7 separate regions of the Homo sapiens genome follow, and regions 1, 2, 3, 4, 5 and 6 are each linked to region 7. The links are contacts of gene promoters, found by promoter capture Hi-C in blood cells and fetal thymus (Javierre and others, 2016). All regions are on one chromosome and are shown on one strand. The core of a region is centred on a gene start or on the middle of the fragment in contact, and the rest is flanking DNA. Distances in the headings are between cores, read along the strand shown.

Region 1 (3,300 bases), core at 340-2,839, 230 kb before region 7:
AGGTGGGGCCCTTCTTCCACCAGCTCACCTGCAGACACTGGCCTGACTGCAGGTCTTGTAGTAAGTACTCTCCAAGGCGAGCTGCCCTCTGCCAAGCCAAAGGATGGGGGCACTGTTACCTGGAGGTAGCACCCTTAGGGCAGCACCTACCAGGCTACAGCTGGGTAGAATGAGGTAGAGGGGACTGGGAGACTTTGGTGATGCCGCTGAATATGGCCCTGGTCTGAGTCACCCCCCATGTTCCCAGAGACCGGCACAGGGTGGATGGAGTGAAAATTTGAGGCCAGATGTGAGATGCATTTGGAGAGATCTGTGGAGGAGGGTCGCCCAGTCCTAACCGTGGAGGCTTTGCTGGGTAGTGAAGTACAGCCACTGGGTTCCAAGGCACAGAGGGATCTGTTGTCCTGGGGGCCTCGTGTCTCCAACAGTAGCACATCGTCTTTGAGAGGCCCCAGGGAGTCTGGAAGGGGTGAGAGGCCACTCTGACCAAGACCCATCCTTGCTGGGATTGGCCACTTGCCTGCCTCCCATGCCCTGACCTTCACCCCTAGGAGGTGGCCCTGCCCCAGCTGCCCCCAGGCCCAACTCACCAGCCCACAAGCACTCCTGCAGCTGCAGCTTCTCCGAGCTGTTCACCTGCTGGGAAGAGACCATGGTTAGGGCCACTAAGAAAAGCAAAAGCCAAAGGCAGAAAGACCAGAATGGGGCAGGCAACAGAAGGCCTGTTGGGTTGGGAATCTGCACTCAATCTGACCTGAGGCAGATGTGGATTCAAGGCTGGGTGATTAGGAATCACTACATCTTTCTCTGCCCCAGCCTTGTGAGATCATCTGTATAAAGCGTCTTCTGACCCTAAAGCTGTTTTTATGTCTTACGGAGCATGGTTCCCCTCTCATCTAACCTTCTCAAAGAGATTCCTTTCTCACATGACCACCCTGCTAAAAATTGCAACCCCAGTCCCACCTTATCCCTTTCCCATGGTATTTGTATGCAATTTTAAGATACTATATGATTTATTTACAATGTCTGTTGCCTGCCTTTCTCCATTACAATATAAGTTCTATGAGGGTAGAGATGTTAGGGTCTATCACAAGTGCCTAAAACAGTGACTTGTGCTGCTCAAAAAATCTTGAATGAGTGAATTTTTTTTTTTTTTGAGACGGAGTTTCACTCTGTCGCCCAGTCTCACTCTGTCACCCAGGCTGGAGTGCAGTGGCGCCCTCTCAGCTCACTGCAAGCTCAGCCTCCCAGGTTCACGCCATTCTCCTGCCCCAGCCTTCCTAGTAGCTGGGACTACAGGTGCCCACCACCACGACCGGCTAATTTTTTGTATTTTTAGTAGAGATGGGGTTTCACCATGTTAGCCAGGATGGTCTTGATGTCCTGACCTCGTGATCTGCCCGCCTCGGCCTCCCAAAGTGCTGGGATTACAGGCGTGAGCCACCGCGCCTGGCCGGATGAGTGAATGTTCTTATAATCACCCTTTGAAACTGTAGAGCAACCCATTCTACAGGTATGGAAATAGAATAAGGATAGCAATAATAAAAGTGGCTACATTTATGGAGCATTTAGTCTGTACCGATTCCTAAGGGGAAGCACTTCTCTTATTTCATTGTCACAACCACTCCATGAGGTAGTTACTGTATTATCATCTGCATTAAACAGATGAGGAAACTGACGTTCAGAGAGGTGAAGTGAGTTGCCCAGGGTCCCGCGCACTACTAAAGTAGGCAGTGGAACTCCCATAGAGGAAGCTGGCAACCACTATGCTTTAGCGGCCCAAGAACTAAGACCCCCTTGGCTGGGGGGTCTGCCCAGGTCCAGCCTCCAGCCCAGCACTATGCACCCCTTTCTGACCTGAACACAGAGGTTAGGGTGGCCTTTCAGCAATGGGAACTCGAGAACCTTCTGTGGAAAGAGAGGAATGGGTGGGATCACAAAAGGGGACCCCCGGTTCCCCACTCTCCCCTCACCACGGGAGGTGCCCTCTGCTTCACTTACGTCCACAGTGACGTTCTCCCAGGAAAGCGGTGGGACCAGTGGCTGGCAGGGGTCCCCACCCGGAGCCCGCCAGCACAGTGCCGCTTCTGCGGGCAGCGAGCACGGTGCGTCCAGCAGCCAGCTCTGCAGGGTCAGCAGTTGCAGTCGGGCGGCTTGCCAGAGGTTCTGGTGTGCGCGGGGGTCTGCAAGGAAAGGGCACAGTCACCGCAGGCCAGGTACCCATCGCTCGCAACACCCCAACCCCAGCCCCAGGCCGGTCGGCTCACCCTCCCTGAAGGGGCAGATGTTCGTCCTAACGGAGTCAGGTTCCAGAGGCCACACCTGGAAAGGAAATGGGGGTCTGCTCAGGTCCCCTCCATGGGCATGTGCCTGGCCCTCTGCTGGACAGTGGGGATGCACTCATTCAGCAGGTATTTCACAAACACTTGCTGGGTCTTCCTGCCTTTTACAAAACCTGGAGGTGCTCACATCTATTCTTCCAGCAAACATAATGCTGGGCACTGGCAACATCTTCATTAACAAACTTTTTTTTTTTTTTGAGATAGAGTCTCGCTCTGTCGCCCAGGCTGGAGTGCAGTGGTGCAATCTTGGCTCACTACAACCTCCACCTCCCAGGTTCAAGCGATTCTCCCATCTCAGTCTCCTGAGGAGCTGCGATTACAGGAACATGCCACAACGGCCGGCTAACTGGTTAATTTTTGTATTTTTAGTAGAGATGGGGTTTCACCACATTGATCAGGCTGGTCTCGAACTCCTGACCTCAAGTGATCCACCCGTCTCAGCCTCCCAAAGTGTTGGGATTACAAGCGTGAGCCACCGCGCCTGGCCCATTCAACAGACTTTTAATGAGTGCCTACCATTGTGTCTTAGCAGTATGGCAAGCACAAGAGACCTTGGATAATTAAATTTTTATTATTTTTTTATTTTTTGAGATGGAATCTCACTCTGTTGCCCAGGCTGGAGTGCAGTGGTGTGATCTCAGCTCACCACAACCTCCGCCTCCTGGGTTCAAGTGATTCTCCTGCCTCAGCTTCCCAAGTAGCAGGGACTACAGGCGCACATCACCATGCCTGGCTAATTTTTGTACTTTTAGTAGAGACTGGGTTTCACTATGTTAGGCCAGGCTGGTCTCAAACTCCTGACCTCGTGATCCACCCACCTTGGCCTCCCAAAGTGCTGGGATTACAGGTGTGAGCCACTGTGCCTGGTGGATAATTAATTTTAATTCATTCCACAATCACTTGTGTAAGCACCTGCTATGTGTTGGGGAATGTGCTAAGTTCTAAGGACACATTCATT
Region 2 (3,036 bases), core at 104-2,603, 220 kb after region 7:
GGCCAGACTGCTGTTTTTAAGACAGTAAAGGGTACCATATACTTTTTCAGCTAGGTAAGTGATTTCTGGTCATAGTGTCACAGCATCTCTAGCTGTTTCTATTTGTTTTCTGGGTTAACTGCAAAATTTCCAAAACTGTTGGTTTGGGTCTGCCACTTAAAAGAGAGAAATCTTGAATAAGTTGTATCTTCTGAACTTATACCTACCTTGCACATTGTTACATGTAAATGAGGTAGCTGATGACTTAAGTGGAGTCCAGGAAAGTGTAAAGTGACATAGAAGGTGCCACTGTTGCACTGGCCTCTTTAATTAATATTGTCTAGCTTCTATTTACACCAAGCTTGTCCAACCCACAGACCACGGGCTGCACGTGGCCCAGGATGGCTTTGAATGCGGCCTAACACAATCATAACTTTCTTAAAATATATATATATTTTTAAGCTCATTAGCTATTGTTAGTGTATTTTACATGTTGAATAATTCTTCCAGTGTGGCCCCGGGAAGCCAAGAAGATTGGACACCTCTGATTTACACCATATCAAAAGCAAAGTCCCTAGCAACACAGTAAGTACTTGAAAAGAATAGCAAATAGGTTAACTCTGAATGGGCAGTTGACTGTCTTACCTTGATATTCTCAGCACCTCAGATATAGCCTAGCACACAGTAGGTGTTCAGCCAATGGTCATGGAACAGAACCTTCCAATTATGGCAGAAATCAGTTAGTTTTATTCATTATCAGAAGCCCAGTGCTATAGCTGAAACACTGTACTAGGTCTCAATTTCTCATCTTTAACTTCTGGCATTTGGCTTGCTTTCTTCACAGAATTATGAGTCAAAATAAGACACTGTATATGGAAACACTTTCTAAAGATCATGCACACTATTCTCTTCCTAACCCAGGTAGAATCAGGTTGTGGTTGGTGGTAGGTTACCTAGGTATTCCTAGGGCATTTTGGAGGGATCTTCTAATAAAACAAGTGGTTTTGTTATGTTTCCACTTTCTATTTTCTTTTGAGACGGAGTCTCGCTCTGTCGCCCAGGCTGGAGTGTAGTGGCACGATCTCGGCTCACTGCAACCTCTGCCTCCTGGGTTCAAGCGATTCTCCTGCCCCAGCCTCCCAAGGAGCTGGGATTACAGGCACGCACCACCACGCCCGGCTAATTTTTGTATTTTTAGTAGAGACAGGGTTTCACCATGTTGTTCAGGCTGGTCTCAAACTCCTGATCTTGTGATCCGCCTGCCTTGGCCCCCCAAAGTGCTGGGATTACAGGCATGAGCCACCACGCCCAGCCTTCCATTTCTAAACTCCTTCAACTAATAAATAGCATCTTCATCTTTGAATCCCTTATGTGCTTTGCAAACTGCAGTCTACCTTAGTTACTCAGTAAACATTTGTCAAACAAATGTTAGAATACTGCCAATTCAATCCATTGGCAAGTTCTGCTGTGTACTTGCAAAACATATCCTGACTCCAATCACTTCTTATCCCCATCATTACCGTCTTAATAGAAGCCACCACTGCATTGTTGCTTGCCTGAACAACTGCTCTACCTTCCACACCAGTTTCTCAGCTCCTATTCATCTCTTCACCAACAGGATCAAAACAATCAGAGTAATTTTTAAAAATCAACCAAATATAAATTAGACAATGTCACTTCTCTCCTTAAAATCCTGCAATGACTCCTCCACTGTACTTACTGAATGCAGATTATTTAAATTATACCTACAAGGTTCTACATTAGAGACCAGCAAACTACAGCCTGCAAACCAAATCCAACTTGCCACTTGTTTCCTGTAAATAAAGTTTTATTGGAACATAGCCACATACTGTCTATGCCTGCTTTTGCACTGCAATGGAAGAGCTGAATAGTTGTTTTTTTTTTTTTTTTTTTTTTTTTTTTTGAGACAGAGTCTCGCTCCATCACCCAGGCTGGAGTGCAGTGGAGTGACCTTGGTTCACTATAACCTCCTCCTCCCAGGTTCAAGAGATTCTCCTGCCTCAGCCTCCTGAGTAGCTGGGATTACAGGTGCGCACCACCACACCTGGTTAATTTTTGTATTTTTAGTAGACAGGGTTTTGCCATGTTGGCCAGGCTGGTCTCGAACTTCTGACCTCAAGTGATCTGCTCTCTTGGGCCTCCCAAAGTGCTGGAATTACAGGCATGATTCGCACCCAGCCAAAGGGCTGAATAGTTATGACAGAGACCATACATGGCTTGCAAAGTCTAAATATTTACTATCTGGCCCTTTATAGAAAGAGTTTGCCGACTCCTGCTCTACATGATCTGTCCCCTATCTCCCTCTTACAGGATCTTCTATCCTCTTTCCCAGCCCCATCCATTTATTACATCTTAACCAAGCTTTTTCTACCACAGAGTCTGCAACGTTCAAGAATGAATTTCACTCACATCGTCCCAGGACTGCCTCCTTGTCACTGAAGTCTCAGTTTAAATGTCAACTCCTCAGAGACTTTTCTTGACCAACCAATCTAGAGTGGCTCCTTCAACTGTCTTAGTCACATATCTGCTATGAAACAATTAACATGGCAATGACTATTTAAAATTATATACTAGTTTAGTTCTCTCCTCCACTAGAATGTAAACTCCATGAAAGAAGAGACCTTACTTTGCCCACCCCCAATCAGCATTCTAATCACCATAAGCCCAGCACCAAAAACAATGTCCAGCATTGTTTTTGAATGAAAAAGACCAATAAATAGTTGCTGAATGAATGAGGCCAAGGTCAGGAACACCACTCAAGTTCAAGGCAGTTTTTAATGTTCACTTGCCCTGCTGCAGGTTTGCCTTCACACTGTCCTGACTGCAATCATAAAAAGCGAAGGAAGATCAGACAGTATTCCTGGCCCCATTATCATGGGCAAAACAACTCCACCAAGGGCACATTCTCCTCAGATAAAAATGGCATTAGGAAAACCAGGCAAGGCAGGGCCACAAAATTGGACAAAGAAGTTCTCAACTTTATGATTATTATGGTTAAGAATTTTATTATCAAAATTATTACATCTCTTGTGAAAG
Region 3 (3,229 bases), core at 105-2,604, 180 kb after region 7:
TTTGTAGAGATGGGGTTTCACCATGTTGCCCAGGCTGATTTTGACTCCTGGGCTCAAGCAATCGTCCCACCTCAGCACTCCCAAATAAGTGAGACTACAGGCATGCACCACGATGCCCACTAACTTTTTGTATTATTATTATTTTTTTTAGTAGTGTCAGAGTTTTGCCATGTTGCCCAGGCTAGTCTCAAACTCCTGAGCTCAAGTGGTCCACCTGCCTTGGCCTCCCAAAGTGTTGGGATTACAGGCATGAGCCACGATGCCTGGTCAAAATTATGTTTTTAAATTTCACAAGTAATATATGAATATACCCACTCTGTAAAAAGCTGAAATATTACAAAAAGACTAAAGTCCCCACCCAAGCCCCACCCAGAGGCCACCACTCTTATAAACTTCATTTCTATCTTCCCTGATCTTTTTCTGCACATTTACATATATATCCATAAGGAAACTATATCATGTCATCTTCTGTGTACCCCTGCTTACTTCTTTCTCCCTTCCCTTTCCTTTCCTTCCTTCTGTCTCCTTCCCTCCCTCCTTCTCTTCCTTCCTTCCTTTCAGTGAAATACATGTACATGAAATTTACCATTTTAACCTTTTTTTTTCTTTTTTTCTTAAAACAACAAAAATTTATTCTTGTTCTGGAGGCTAAGAAGTCCAATATCAAAGTGTGGGCAGGGCCTCATGCCCCCTGCAGACTCTGGGAGGGAAGCTTCCCTGATCTCATCTCCCTTCTTTTGGCTGTCAGCCTTCCTTTGTGTTCTTGACTTACAGCAGCATCACTCCAATCTCTGGTCTTCACGTGTGTGTGTGTTTCTCTTCTCTTCCTATAAGGACACCAGTGATTGGACTTAGAGCCCACCCTAATGACCTTATTTTGTCTTGTGTCTTAATTATATCTGCAGGTACCCTGTTTCCAAATGAGATCACATTCACAGGTACCAGGGATTAGGACTTGAACATATCTTTTTGAGGGAACGCAATTAAACTCATTACATTCACCATCATTTTAAGAGATGCTTGAAGGAGGGAGATGATATGAGGGATGTTAGACCACAGCCGACTACAATTGTGAGCAAAATAAAGACAGTTATTCAAACTATTGTCAGATTTGTACGGGGACATTCTTTTTTCCCGCATTTTCTTATTGTGGTAAAATACACATGACATAAAATTTATCATTTTTACTGTCTTTTGGTGCACAATTCTCTAGCATCAAGTACATTCACATTATTGCTCAGTCATTACCACCATCCATCTCCAGAACTCTTTTAATCTTGCAAAACTGAAACTTTGTGCCCATTAAACACTAACTCCGCATTCCTCCCTCCCCCGAGCCCTGGCAGCTACCATTTCACCTTCTGTCTCTGTGAATTTGATTACTCTAGGTAGCTCATATAAATGGAATCATACAGTGTTTGTCCTTTCATGACTGGCTTATTTATATACCTAGCAAAGTGTCTTCAGGATTCCTCCATGTTGTATCATGTGTCAGAATTTCTTTCCTTTTTAAGGTTCAATATATTTCATTGTATGTATATACCATCCCCTACTTTTTTTAAAACTAAAGGGATCATGCCTACGTATGGTCTTTCTACCTGCTCAATATGTCAGAAAAAGAGAGGTAGTTAAGAGCATGGACTCAGGCCCCAGGAAGGCTAGGTCAGACTCATCATTTAACCTTTCTGTGCCTGTTTCATAACATATAAAAATGAGGTAACAATGAATTAATACACATAAAACAGTTAAAACAGTGTCTGGCATGTTTCCCATTTTTTCCCATTTTTTCAAACGTATAAGCACGTTGGATTTTTTTTAAAATTATGATTGCTTTTTTTCAGATGACGTTGTGTCAAAGAAATCTTGCTCTTTCAGTCCTTAAAGTGCTACCCATTCTTTCTCATTGTTGCAATGCATTTCATAGTATGCATATCCTTTTTATAAAAAACACAGATGAGTGGACTTCTGGTTTCTGGTCAGGGATGTAAGAAGCTTGGAAGCTGCTACTCCATCCTAACAGCAAGTAAAAAGCCAAACAAACTGAAAAATAAACACTCTTGCTAGATCCATGAGAGACGTAAGGTCACAGGGCAAACTGCTGCCCCCAAAATTGGAGCGACAGACAGGTGAGTGCAGAGAATCACAACTTACAGGAGCAGAAGGAACCCATGAGCAGAAACCTTTATGGGAACCAATGCCCAGGCAAGGGAAAACTGAATTGTAATTGACAAATTGCTGGAGGCTGTGTGGACAAGTGTGAGACATTAAAAACTCCCAGGGGACCCAGTCATTAGGGGGGCTCCCACACTTTTGTAAGTTTTACTTCCTGAAGCTCTACCAAGTTCTTACGGTGAATATTGAAGAAAAATCCCCTCATGGTTCTGGCAAGAGCAGGGAAAAAGGAACAATTCTGATGTATGCCAGGCCTGTCCTTGGGAGAAACTAGGTGACTAGAGCCTAACCTGCTGGGATTATCAGAGAGAGGCTAACTGATCTTGGGGGAAGGAAACTCCATCTGCCTCTAGCCATGCTGTCCCACCTAAGGAGGGCAAGAAAAAAACAGCAACAACTTAGAAGCATTTGTGAAATTAACAGTCCAGGGCAAAGGCTCACTAAAAGACGGAGACCTCTTTGTAGGACTATAGAATGCTTCCCCTCTTCCCACATCTTACCACCACATCACTAAAAGCCTACTTACAGCAGTTTCTTTTACCCAGTACATTATTTCCAGCTATCAAGAAAAAAATTACAAGGGATACTAAAAGGCAAAAACACAGTTTGAAGAGACAGAGCAAATATGTGAACCCGGCTCAATTATGGCAGGCATGTTGGAATTATCAGACCAGGAATTTACACATATAACTATAATTAATATTGCAATGGCTCTGACAAATAAATTAGCATGCAAGAACAGATGGGCAACGTAAGCAGAGAGATGGAAATACTAAGAGAGGACCAAAAATAAATGCTAGAGATAAAAAACACTGTAACAGAAAGGAAGAATGCCTTTGACGGGCTTTTAGTAGACTGGCCATGGCTGAGGAAAGAATCTCTGAATTCAAAGATATGTCAGTAGAAACCTCTAAAAACAAAAAGTAAAGGGAAAAAGACTAAAACAAACTAACAAACAAACTTGAATATCCAAGAACTATATGATGGCTACAAAAGTTGTAACATTTACATATTTAGAATAACAGAAAGAGAAAAAAGAAAGGAACAGAAGAACTTT
Region 4 (3,036 bases), core at 261-2,760, 210 kb after region 7:
ATACAAAAATTAGCCAGGCATGGTGGTGCGTGCCTGTAATCCCAGATACTCAGGAGGCTGAGGCAGGAGAATTGCTTGAACCCAGGAGGCGGAGGTCGCAGGGAGGTGGGATGGCGCCATTGCACTCCAGCCTGGGCAACAGAGCAAGACTCCGTCTCAAAAAAAAAAAAAAATAGGGTTCTGATACAAAGGAGAAAGGAGTGAATAGAGAGAGGGATACAGTAATCTCTGCACACCTCTGACAGCACAGGCACGACTTGTCCAAGTCCATACAGGCAGAAAAGAGTAGAGCCTCATCTGCTCTAGCCAGAGTGCTCAGTCCAGTCACTTTGCCTCTCTCTAAAGCCCCATTGAATAAATAGAGAAAACAATAGTGACTCCCCCAAGGGAAGCTGTAAGCAACATACCAGGGAATATATGCACTTTGCTCTGCAGGGTATCTGGCACGCTGTAATGTGCGCAGTACCAGGTAGCTACATTGAAGACTTGGAAATGGAGTCCTCTTCCAACACATTTTAAGCACTTAGTGTATGCTAAGCACTTAAGCTAGAAAAAAAATGAGCAAAACAGAGATGCTGTCTTAAGCATAATTCTGGTTGGGGAGATGAACATGTGAAAATAACGCATGACTTGCCACATGCAGGGTATTGTGGGTATCCTAGGCAGGAATACTTTAAATGGCTTTTGGTGACGTGGGCAGCGTAGGAGGAGGTCTTGCTGTAGGATGAGAAGTTAGGCAGGAGGGGTCAGGAAGGTCAAAGAGAAGGCAGCTTGAGGAAAAAGACTGAGGTAGGCAGCAGAACTGTGTATGGAGGACGAAAAGCAACTTAGTTTGAAATGTGAAGTACGAGGCAGGGAGGAGTCAGAGATGAGTCTAGAGAGACAGGCGAGGGCCAGACCATGAGAAAGCTTGGGGGCCATGGACAGGAGTTTGGACTTAAGAGCAATGGGGAACCACTGAAGGATTTGAAGCAGAAGGAAAAATGACTCAATTTGCATTTTAGAAAGAGCACTCTGGTGGTAGCATTAGGGGGCTGGATTAGGGGTAGACTGTTAGCCCATTTCTGCATTGTTATAAAGCCATACCTGAGACTGCATCATTTGTTTTATTTATTTATTTTGAGATGGAGTCTCCCTCTGTTGCCCAGGCTGCAGTGCAGTGGCACAATCTCAGCTCACTGCAACCTCAGCCTCCCTGATTCAAGTGATTCTCCTGCCTCAGCCTCCTGAGTAGCTGAGATTACAGGTGTGCACCACCACACCCGGCTAATTTTTGTATTTTTAGTAGACATGGGATTTCACCATGTTGGCCAGGCTGGTCTCAAACTCCGGGTCTCAAGTGATCCACCCGCCTCAGCCTCCCAAAGTGCTGGGATTGCAGGCATAAGCCACTGCACCTGGCCTGCATAATTTATTTTTATTTTTTTGAGACAGGGTCTTGCTCTGTCACCCAGGCTGGAGTGCAGTGGTGAGATCACAGTTCACTGTAGCCTCAACTCCCAGGCTCAAGCAATCCTCCCACCTCATTCTCCCAGGTAGCTGGGACCATAGGCACCACCATGCCTGGCTATCTCTTTTTTTTTTTGAGATGGAGTCTCACTCTGTTGCCAGGCTGGAGTGCAGTGGCATGATCTCAGCTCACTGCAACCTTTGTCTCCCGGGTTCATGCAATTCTCCTGTCTCAGCCTCCCAAGTAGCTGAGACTACACACGTGCACCACCACGCCCAGCTAATTTTTGTATTTTTAGTAGAGATGGGGTTTCACCATGTTGGCCAAGATGGTCTCGATCTCTTGACCTCGTGATCCACCCACCTTGGCCTCCCAAAGTGCTGGGATTATAGGCGTGAGCCACTGCTCCCGGCCTTATTATTATAATTTTTTATAGAAACGGGGTCTTGTTATGTTACCCAGGCTGGTCTCAAACTCCTGGGCTCAAGCAATCTTCCTGTCTCAGTCTCCCAAAGTGCTGGGATTGCAGGCATGAGCCACTGCACCTGGCCAAACTGGGCAATTTATAAAGAAAAGAGATTTATTTTGGCGCATGGCTCTGCAAACTGTACAGGTAGCATGTTGCTGGCATTTGCTTCTAGTGAGGCTTCAGGAAGCTTACAATCATGGTGCAAGGTTAGGGGAAGCCAGCGTGTCACACGGCAAGGGCAGGAGCAAGACAGAGAGAAGAGGGCAGTCCCAGGCTCTTAAACAACCAGATCTCATGTGTGTGAATTAACTGTGCGAGAACTCACCCATCACCAAGGGGATGACACTAAACCATTCATGAGGGACCCACCCCCATGATCCACTCACCTCCCACCAGGCCCCACCGCCAACACTGGGGATGACATTTCAACATGAGGTTTGGTGGGGACAAACAGCGAAACCATATCAGAGACCACTTCAGTAAAAGAGAAACCAGAAGCCTGGCCTGAAACAAGGAGGTCGCAGTGGGTCTAAGAGAAGTAAGAAGTTCCATCTTCAGGAAGTAGAAGGGAACCAACTGACTATGGGAATAACACACAGGCTGGCAAAAAGAGGGTTAAAGTTTTTGCTTGGGGACTAGAAAGATCTGCCAGTATAGCAGGGGAGCAAGATGATCAGTTCCGTTTGAGATGTGCTAAGTTTAAGATGCATGTGAGATGCCTTGGTGGAGTTGTCCAGCAGTCAGCTGACATATGGATTTGGGAGCTCAAGAGAAAAATCTGGGTCAGAAGCATCGGTATCCAGGTAGTGGTGGAAACTGGAAGCATAGAGGAGCCTGCTCTGGGCGACTGTGTGGTGTGGAGAGAGCATGGAGCTCTGGAATGCTGGAGAGCACTGCAGGATAAAGCACTGTCAGAGGAACAGATGTCCACAAAGGAGAGGGGTCAGGAGGAGAATCATGAGTGTGGCTTTATAGAAACCAAGGATGTAGAGTTTAAGGGGAAAGTCAGCTGGTCAAGTCGAGCACAGAGGTCCTGTATAAGAGACTGAAAAATGTGTCCATTGGATTTGGGGACAAGGAGGCCACCCCTGAAACTTGATAAGAGCATGTTCAGGAG
Region 5 (2,994 bases), core at 269-2,768, 160 kb before region 7:
TATGGACCAGAGTCATTTGTACTATATAATGAACTTTTCTTAAAACTTATTTTTGAAAGTCTAACCAAATGTCTCAAGAAGCATGAGAATATGTGAGGTTAGAACCCGCTCCCGCTTCCCCATTTCCCCTACTTTCCAAACATCCAACCCCATGTTAATTGCTTTATGCTATTTCAGCCTTATGACCCTGGGTGGCAGGTGCAATCCCATTTTACCCATGAGGAAGCTGAAGCTCAAAGCTAGAGCAGTTTGCTGAAGTTCACCCAGCTAATAAGACTGGATTAGGACTTAGGCCTGCCTGATTCAGGTTCTGTTCTCAGTACATGCTCATGCCAGGCATGGATGTCTTCATGTCCAGCACTCTGAACATGAGCTAGACTGCAGGTGGCTTGGACAGGCCTCAGAGTCTAGAACAGAGTGTCTCAAGGTGCAGAACCATGTTATGGAGATTAATCTGGTTGGTCCAAAGTAGTAGTAGAAAAATAAAAGCCTTATGAAATGAGCTGGGGTTTTGCATGAGAAAGTAGGGAGGTTCCGGGCATCTCAGTTAAGGTGGAATTGCAGGTCCTCGCACTAATCTTGATCCCATCTGCAGCATCTGTTCCTATTTGCACATCGCTCTAGAATTGATGAAATGCTTTTAGTGCTACCACCTCAGTGGTATTCAAATGTTATTAATGAAGAAAACAAACATAATGAAACCAATCCCTTCCAGGCCAGCATGGGAATAAGGGGGTGCAGGGAGGGGGTACACTCTTGTTTTTATTTATTATGTATTTATTTATTTTTGAGACAGAGACTCACTCTGTCACCCAGGCTGGAGTGCAGTGGCACAATCTCAGCTCACTACAACCTCTGTCTCCCAGGTTCAAGTGATTTTCGTGCCTCAGCTTCCCGAGTAGCTGAGATTACAGGTGTCTGCCACCACGCCCGGCTAATTTTTTGTATTTTTTAGTAGAGACGGGGTTTCGCCATGTTGGCCAGGCTGGTCTCAAACTCCTGACCTCAAATGATCCACCCACCTCGGCCACCTAAAGTTATAGGATTACAGGCATGAGCCACCAAGCCCAGCCTTGTGTTTTTTGTTTGATTGTTTTTTGAGACTGAATCTTGCTCTGTCACCCAGGCTGGAGTGCAGTGGTGCCACCTCGGCTCACTGTGACCTCCGCCTCCTGGGTTCAAGCGATTCTCCTGCCTCAGGCTCTGGAGTAACTGGGATTACAGTCACCCACCACTATGCCTGCCTAGTTTTTGTATTTTTAGTAGAGACAGAGATTCGCCATGTTGGCCATGCTAGTCTCAAACTCCTGACCTCAGGTTACCCGCCCTCCATGGCCTCCCAAAGTGCTAGGATTACAGGCGTGAACGCCATGCCCGACCTACTTCGTGGTTTTGACTTGCGTGCCCTCTCATTCCACCCAGGGAAGCTTTCCGCTGGGCCCTCTTCAGCATGCAGGCCACAGGCCACGTACTGCTTGGCACCTCCTGTTACCTGCAGCAGCTCCTCGATGCTACGGAGGAAGGGCAGCCCCCCAAGGGCAAGGCCTCATCCCTTATCCCGACCTGTCTGAAGATACTGCAGTGAAAGCCCAAGTCCTTGGAAGCTTTCCCCAGTGAAGGACTGACTGGGGGCCTCACGCTTAACTGGTAGTGCCCACAAGCCTGGCAGCTGTAGAGCCGCGAACCTCCCCACACCTCCCTCACCGCGCAGGACCCTGAGTGAGGAGGAGGAGCTGGAAACCTGGGGTGGGTTGGCCAAAGGAGAACCTCAAGCTCCTGGCCTGATCCAGCTCCTTCCTGCCCAAGGCAGCTTAGCCCATCCAGACTGGTCCTGAAGTCTGTCCCTCCATTGGCATGAAGTCTGCCCCTTAGCAATCTGGCCTCGCAGGCTGTACTTTCATGGTGCTCTCTACCTTCTGGCCCCCATCCCGGAACATTCCTGAGTGAATTCGCAAGCGCACTAGCATGTGATATTAGGGAGTTTGCAATAAATTATTGAGGCTGATGTATCTTCTTTGCCTGTGTTCTTTGGGGTGGGGTTTTATCTGGAAGGTTGGAGGGGGCTAAAGGAAGAGACGAATCTATTGTCAAAGTATTCTCTTTAATGTAGGATTACAGCTAATGGCACTTTTTCTACCAAAGAAGAAAAAAAAAAACAGCTGGGCACAGTGACACGTGCCTGCAGTCCCAGATACTCAGCAAGCTGGGGTGGAAGCATCCCTTGAGACCAGGAGTTCAAGGCCAGGCTGGAGCACAATAGCAAGACCCCAGGCTCCTTAAAAAACAAAATTGCAGTTGATTTTGAAACTAAAGTCAGCTGAATTTGAGGCTTGAGCTGACCATGTAATTGATACCATAAGTAACAATTTCCTAATTAAATTCACCTATCAGAGGAGCTTCAATTGAGCAGGTGGGATTAAGTCACTCTTCTAATTTCTCAGTGTCCCATTTTATAATAACCGTTTAAGTGGTTAGGTGAAAAAGTACTACTCAAGCTGTAAGGCATTTCTCCATCAATGCCCATCCTAACTTGCCAGACAGCTTATCTTTCATGTTCAGGACTTTCAACCTCGGGATTTCAAAGTGGGCTCATAGGTAGCCCCAAAGAGTAGGAGCTTCTCATCAGTGTGAGCTGGCATTTTCCAGTATTGGACAACTCAAGACAAGCATGAAAGGCTGAACTTAGGCTGGGCATGGTGGCTCACGCCGTAATCCCAGCACTTTGGGAGGCCGAGCCAGGCAGATTACCTGAGGTCAGGAGTTCAAGACCAGCCTGACCAACATGGTGAAACCCGGTTTCTATTAAAAACAAAAAAATTAGCTGGCCAGCATGGCAGGCGCCTGTACTCCCAGCTGTTTGGGAGGCTGAGGCAGTAGAATCGCTTGAACCTGGGAGGCAGAGGTTGTGGTAAGCCAAGATCGTGCCACTGCACTACAGCCTGGGTGACAGAGCGAGACTCCATCTCAAAAAAAAAAAAAAAAGGCTGAACTTGT
Region 6 (2,867 bases), core at 368-2,867, 200 kb before region 7:
GGATGTCAAGCTTCTTTAATCTTGAAAATTATAAAGCAATCAAGAAAAGATTAATTTCTTAAGCAGAGAAAAAGCTATATATACAAAGATATTCATTTTAGCATTCTTTAATTTTTATTTTTTGGAGACGGAGCCTTGCTCTGTCACGCAGGCTGGAGTGCAGCGGCGCGATCTTGGCTCACTGCAATCTCCGCCTCCTGGCTTCAAGCGATTCTCCTGCCTCAGCCCCCAGAGTAGCTGGGACTACAGACGCCTGCCACCACGCCCAGCTAATTTTTTGTACTTTTAGTAGAGACGGGGTTTCACCATGTTAGCCAGGATGGTCTCGATCTCCTGATCTCAAGATCTGCCCACCTCAGCCTCCCAAAGTGCTGGGATTACAGGCGTGAGCCACCACGCCAGTCCCTGCCTCTCTCTCTTTTCTTTCTTTCCTTCATTCCTTCCTTTGTTCCTTCCTTCCTTCGTTCCTTCCTTCCTTCCTTCCTTTCTTGACAGGATTTTGCTCTGTCATGGAGGCTGGAGTGCAGTGGCACAATCACTGCTCACTGCAGTCTTGAACTCTTGGGCTTAAGCAATCCTCTCACCTCAGCCTCCTGAGTAGCTGGGATTACAGGCATGCACCATCACACCTGGCTAATTTTTGTATTTTTAGTAGAGACGGGGTTTCACCATGTTGGCCAGGCTGGTCTCAAACTCCTGACCTCAGGTGATCTGCCCGCCTCAGCCTCCCAAAGTACTGGGATTACCGGCATAAGCCACTGTGCCCAGCCCTGTAGCATTATTTCTAACAACAAACAATTAGAAAAATTAAACACTGCCTATTCTTTTTTTTTTTTTTTTTTTTTTTTTGAGACAGGGTCTCACACTGTCATCCAGGCTGGAGTGCAGTGGCGCTATCTTAACTCACTGCAACCTCCACCTCCTGAATTCAGGTGATCCTCCCACCTCAGCTTCCCAAGTAGCTGGGACTTCAGGTGTGCACTACCACATCCAGCTAATTTTTGTATTTTTTTGTAGAGATGGGGTTTGGCCATGTTGGCCAGGCTGGTCTCAAACTCCAGGACTCAAGCGATCCACCCACCTTGGCCTCCCAGAGTGCTGGGATTACAGGTGTGAACCATCATACCTGGCCCAGAAACTGCCAATTCTTTTTTTGGAGATGGAGTTTTGCTCTTGTCGCCCAGGCTGGAGTGCAATGGCATGATGTCGGCTCACTGCAACCTCCACCTCCTGGGTTCAAGTGATTTTCCTGCCTCAGCCTCCTGAGCAGCTGGGATTACAGGTGCCTGCCACCAGGCCCTGCTAATTTTTTGTATTTTTAGTGGAGACAGGGGTTTCACAATGTTGTCCAGACTGGTCTCGAATTCCTGACCTCAGGTGATCAGGCTGCTTCAGCCTCCCAAAGTGTTGGGATTACAGGCGTGAGCCACCGCGCCTGGCCTAGAAACTGCCAATTCTTAAGCAATGTAAGGGCATTTAGTATGTACCAGGCACTGAGCTGAGCAATTAAAATATAGAGTAAGAAAGAAGATCCTGCTCTACAAATAGATGGTAATAACAATAAATCCATAGCTTTTAATTCCAAGAATCTCAGCTGAAAAAAAACCTTCATAAAATTGTACAATTGTATTTGTGAATATCAGTCATAGCGTGCTATTTTAGGATAATCCAAGTCCCAGTTGAGGTTAAAACAAGACAAATATCTGTTCTAGTAAGTCCCACTTGCTCAGCCTAGGTGGTCCCTCAAAATGTTCTCTTCACTGAGAATGGCCCAAGGGGCTGTTTCTCATACCTGAGCCACCTGACAGCAGATGCTGGCACAAACAGCGGGAACAGTGCCAGACTCGCACACACCAAGGCTTTGTGGAGAAGAGGGCCCACCAGGTGCGGCAAGGGATATAGGCAGAACTTCCTGGGAAAGATGGAAGGGAAAGCAAATGATAGGGTCTAAGAAGGTCCCTCCTACCTCCAACAAGCTGGATTTGAGGCCAAGCTCTGTCACATCCTGGAAGTATGACTTTGGGGGTTACAGGACCTGTCTAAGGATCAGATTCCTCATTCATAAAGCGGGTCTGTTATAAAAATCAAAATTGTAGTGTATGGGAAAATGTCTTGTGAAGTAGAACATACCATAAAATAGGAAGGATTATTGTTGTATTACTGATAGAAGTGAGGGATCAGTTAAGGGGAGGAGCCAACATATATGGAGAACCTGGAGATTTACTCATGTTTCTCATCTAATCCTCTCTACAGATCAGAAGCAACACTGCCTTTAGTGTACAATCATTTCTACTATGCTACTACCCCTCAGAAACTGAGGGTCAGTTGGAGGGGTTAGGTGCACAGTCTGAGGCCACACGGGAGTCTGGCAGAACTGCAATGTGAACCCAGGCTTGTCATGATTCCAAATTTTTCCTTGATATTGTGCTACTTCCCGGGTTGGGAACTGAAAATTAGAATGGAGGGCTTGCTAGGCATCTGCAAAAATAGTGGGCGTGGGGAGGAGCAATGGGGCAGGAAATGCGACTCACCAGTGAAACTGTCATCCTGAGGCACAGGGCCCAGTAGGGAAAAGAAAGGAAAGAGCTATTATTAGGAGAGACTCCCATAAGGCACATTCCTGGGGTCTTTGCTTCAAATCAGCAAATTCTGAGCCCCATAGCTAATAGCCCATACCTTCTGGCTCTTATCTTCCCAGCTCCACCCTGTCCAGGCCCTCAGCACAAAGGACCTTGGCTACCCCTTTGAGACTAGGTAGAGGACACATCAAAGCTGCCACCAGAGCACAGGGACTGCGGAGGTAGCACAGGGCAGGCAGGGGAGTGGGGAGCTTTATGGCTGTGCCAGGCAGGTGTCCCTACCTGGCA
Region 7 (3,110 bases), core at 343-2,842:
GGGGGAGAGGGTGGAAAGGGGTCGGGCACCGAGTCTTGGTGAAAATTTTGGGTGGAGGGATGGGCGGCCGTGGACCCGAATTCAGCTTTGGTCTCCTTTTGGGGAGGAGTCAGGGTGGGCTGAGTAGTCAGACGGTCAAGCCTGGGCCGAGGCCAAGTCAGGGGCTGCTGGGGGCAGGGTTGTGTGGAAGGGGTCGGGCCTGAGGTGGAGCTGCGATAGGAGCAGAGTTGTGGGCGGGGCCAGAGCGGGGGACGGAACTGGACCGCATCTCATAAAAGGGCAGGGCTCAGGCTAGAGGGGGCCATTCAGAATGGGAGGGAGGCCTGCGAGAAGAACCAGGCCGGAGGCGAGGCGGGGGTGGGGCCAGCCAGAATTCCGGGCGGATCCAGGTCGGGGGCGGGCCAAGCCAGAATTCCAGGCGGGGCCTCACACATCGAAGCGCAGATTTTGCTTTTCCTCAAAGAAATAGTCGAGGACGAATTTGCGCACGAAGTCTGGGTTCAGCGTGTTATCAATCACCTCGGTCCGTCCGAACTGGGTAGGGGGGTGGAGGGTCAGCGTGGGACGTGCAGACGGGCAGGGGAATTCCCGGGCGACGCCCTGGGCCGGGAGGGGGCTCTGGGACTCACCTCCCGCCACTCCTGGCTGGCCCGGCTCTGCGTGTAAAGCACCACCACTGCAGGTGGGGGCGGGGAGGGAAGGACGTCAGGTCGGCTCCCACCCCTGGCCCCGACTCCACCCGCCCCTGAGTCGCGCCCAGACCCCAAGTTCCCCCTCCCGGTCCTGGAGCCGCCTACTGGGGTCGGACTTGGAGAAGGTATCAAGGTCTAGCAGGTTCCTAGAGAAAAGCAACAGACAGACAGAGTGGATCATCCTGGAGTCCGCCCGCCTCGAGTCGGCTCTGAGCCGGGCACTGAGGAGAGGCATGGGGCCCGCATCGAACCTCTGTCCCCCATGGCTACCCCCAGCCGGGGTCCGCTCTGTCAGCACTCTGGACAGCACCGGAAATCGCTGTCCAGGAACCATGGCTCTGCGGACTGGACGCGAACGCACCCACACTGTCTCCAAGGGCCCAGGAAAGAGGGCTCGCCCCAGAACTTTGTCCTCCTGGGGCCGAGCTCCTACCGGATATCTGCGACCCACCCCCTGAACCCGCAGGCTGAGCCCTTTTTTCGGGGTGGGGCTGCCCAAGACCCCCCGCTTCTCGATCCCACCAGCTACTCGCCCTGTCATCAGCTGTGATTTTCCAGCCAATTTCGCCTCTCCCCGGGGGTCTAGCCCCTGCCCAGGCTGAGCCCCGCGGCTGGCTGGGGCTGGGGCAGTGCCAGTGCCTAAGCCCTCCCCAGCGCGGCCCGCTCACCGGCAGGACACGGTAATTTCAATCTTGGTGGCCGGGACGCTGCGCTCGGAGGCTCCGCCGAGAGACATGGCTGGTCGGGCGACCAGAGCCGCAGGAGGCTGCGAGACCAGGGCTGCTGGGGCTAGGGGCGACGGCAGCGGCGGGGCCGGCCCATGTGCCGCGGTGTCGGCGGCGGCGGCGGCTGCACTCGCTCCAGCCCTGCGTGCGCTCCAGCCGCTCGCGCCCTGACAGTGGCCGCCGGCGGCAGCGGCTCCAGATGGCAGCACAGCCCCGCCCGGCCCTGCGGGCGGCCCCCGCCCCATTGGAGCAGCCTGGAGCCAGCGGGGAACCTCACCCCGACTCCCAACTCCAACCCACACCTTGGTAGAGTCTGCCCTGCGCAAGTCTCTGGGGTGGAAACCCAAGCCCCCTAGAGTTGTCCATGATGCTGAAACATTTGGGGCACCTGGTGGGCACTGGAATTGTTGCCTCTTACTGAGCCACTCCCTTAGTGTTTCTGTCTTTTCCCACTCCCAGCCTGCCTAGGTCTCTGAATAGGAAAAGTACATCTCTTAGTAGCTGTGTGACCTTGGACAAGTTACTCAACATCTCTGTGGCTCAACCGTGAAAGGCCGTCAGAAAGGCCTTTAACAGCAGCTACTTTAGGTGCTGTAAAATTTTACTGAGATAACCCAAGGAAAACACTTAGCACACAGCAAGTGCTCAGTAAACATTCACTGGTATTTATGATTTGTCCTCTGGGTATTCACAATGATGACAGTAAATGGTGGCTGTTGAGCACCGTGCAAAGCTGTCTGCCCATGCCTTTAACCCTCACGACTTTCATGGCGTTACAGATGCGGACACACTCTCATGACGCAATCTACTGTAGGTTACACTGTAGAAGAGGGTGGTGGTCAGCCAGGCTCTCACCCACCACACATGCACACCAATTGCTATCTCCAAAGCTTCAGAAGCCAGTCCTTCCTCCATAGGCAGGGCTCAAGGTAGGGGATGCAGGTCACCCGTACCAGGACCCTGCTGCCTACAGAACTTGTTAAAGATGAAGATCCTGGTCAGGTACGGTGGCTCATGCCTGTAATCCCAGCACTTTAGGAGGCCAAGGCAGGCAGATCACTTGAGCTCAGGAGTTTGAGACTGGCCTGGCCAACATGGTGAAACCCCATCTCTACTAAATACAAAAATTAGCTGGGGATGGTGGCACGTTCACGTAGCTACTCAGGAGACTGAGGCAGGAGGATCGCTTGAACCCAGGAGGCAGGGGTTGCAGTGAGCCAAGATTGTGCCATTGCACTCCAGCTTGGGTAACAGTGAGACTCCATCTCAAAAAATCTGAAAAAAATGAAGATCCTCCAGCTCCTAATTCCCAGGCAACTTCCTTAGCAACCCTAAGGCTAAAGCTCAGGCAGCCCTGGGAATGTGCACAGCTCATCAGGCTCTCTAGGTGACTAGGACCTGCTTAGGCCCGAGAACCACTACTCTCAACAGTCTTGAGTGTTGTCCCCACTGCAGGGACTACCATGGCTCATGAGTGGAGAGGTATACCTGTCGCCAGTTCTCTTCCTGTTTCACCTGCCCTCCACATAAAAACCCCTTGTCCAGCACAAGGAAGGACAATGAGAACCTTCCTAGTAGCTCCACAAAGACAATAACCAAATGATGACACAAGAGTGGCTATTCAAAAAGACTTTGATTTTATTTTGTGATCTGTGTCAAACTGCCTCATTCTCAGTGCAGGTGATCCCTCCTC

Evidence for each region. The method cuts DNA at HindIII sites, captures the fragments that hold promoters and counts their contacts. A CHiCAGO score of 5 or more calls a contact.
Region 1: a fragment that was not itself captured here is called in contact with the fragment with the promoter of CPNE9 in region 7 in 1 of 17 cell types (M0 macrophages); the score reaches 6.3 in M0 macrophages.
Region 2: a contact is called between a fragment that was not itself captured here and the fragment with the promoter of CPNE9 in region 7, in 1 of 17 cell types (megakaryocytes). The highest score is 5.5, in megakaryocytes.
Region 3: a fragment that was not itself captured here is called in contact with the fragment with the promoter of CPNE9 in region 7 in 1 of 17 cell types (megakaryocytes); the score reaches 5.3 in megakaryocytes.
Region 4: a fragment that was not itself captured here is called in contact with the fragment with the promoter of CPNE9 in region 7 in 1 of 17 cell types (megakaryocytes); the score reaches 5.5 in megakaryocytes.
Region 5: a fragment that was not itself captured here is called in contact with the fragment with the promoter of CPNE9 in region 7 in 1 of 17 cell types (neutrophils); the score reaches 5.7 in neutrophils.
Region 6: a fragment that was not itself captured here is called in contact with the fragment with the promoter of CPNE9 in region 7 in 3 of 17 cell types (monocytes, neutrophils and M0 macrophages); the score reaches 5.5 in monocytes.

The regions. Positions count from the first base shown.
Region 1 is chr3:9,927,188-9,930,487 of GRCh38, reverse strand. It overlaps IL17RC (interleukin 17 receptor C), which reads right to left. Exons shown (of 19, transcript NM_153460.4): 10 at 2,268-2,322; 11 at 2,002-2,183; 12 at 1,858-1,908; 13 at 591-636; 14 at 339-460; 15 at 29-88. Among named protein-coding and RNA genes, the nearest start is that of CRELD1, 5.0 kb to the left of the region's middle. RefSeq lists an enhancer at 1,626-2,125. The HindIII fragment of the contact is 6,275 bases long and covers 1-3,300 here.
Region 2 is chr3:9,478,089-9,481,124 of GRCh38, reverse strand. It overlaps SETD5 (SET domain containing 5), which reads right to left. Exons shown (of 23, transcript NM_001080517.3): 23 at 2,971-3,036. Among named protein-coding and RNA genes, the nearest start is that of LHFPL4, 74 kb to the left of the region's middle. The HindIII fragment of the contact is 2,021 bases long and covers 343-2,363 here.
Region 3 is chr3:9,524,327-9,527,555 of GRCh38, reverse strand. The region is part of intron 2 of LHFPL4 (LHFPL tetraspan subfamily member 4); the gene reads left to right. Among named protein-coding and RNA genes, the nearest start is that of LHFPL4, 28 kb to the left of the region's middle. The HindIII fragment of the contact is 1,280 bases long and covers 715-1,994 here.
Region 4 is chr3:9,494,760-9,497,795 of GRCh38, reverse strand. No RefSeq gene overlaps it. Among named protein-coding and RNA genes, the nearest start is that of LHFPL4, 58 kb to the left of the region's middle. The HindIII fragment of the contact is 1,197 bases long and covers 912-2,108 here.
Region 5 is chr3:9,865,725-9,868,718 of GRCh38, reverse strand. It overlaps CIDEC (cell death inducing DFFA like effector c), which reads left to right. Exons shown (of 7, transcript NM_001321142.2): 7 at 1,423-2,005. The coding sequence ends at 1,585. Among named protein-coding and RNA genes, the nearest start is that of CIDEC, 13 kb to the left of the region's middle. The HindIII fragment of the contact is 177 bases long and covers 1,430-1,606 here.
Region 6 is chr3:9,903,077-9,905,943 of GRCh38, reverse strand. It overlaps IL17RE (interleukin 17 receptor E), which reads right to left. Exons shown (of 16, transcript NM_153480.2): 2 at 2,532-2,547; 3 at 1,793-1,912. Among named protein-coding and RNA genes, the nearest start is that of IL17RE, 1.7 kb to the right of the region's middle. RefSeq lists an enhancer at 2,223-2,867. The HindIII fragment of the contact is 3,209 bases long and covers 13-2,867 here.
Region 7 is chr3:9,702,315-9,705,424 of GRCh38, reverse strand. It overlaps CPNE9 (copine family member 9), which reads right to left and starts at 1,592. Exons shown (of 21, transcript NM_153635.3): 1 at 1,361-1,592; 2 at 798-838; 3 at 630-676; 4 at 431-534. The coding sequence starts at 1,428. MTMR14 (myotubularin related protein 14) reads right to left here. Exons shown (of 19, transcript NM_001077525.3): 19 at 3,032-3,110. RefSeq lists an enhancer at 1,043-1,953. The HindIII fragment of the contact is 18,760 bases long and covers 1-2,309 here.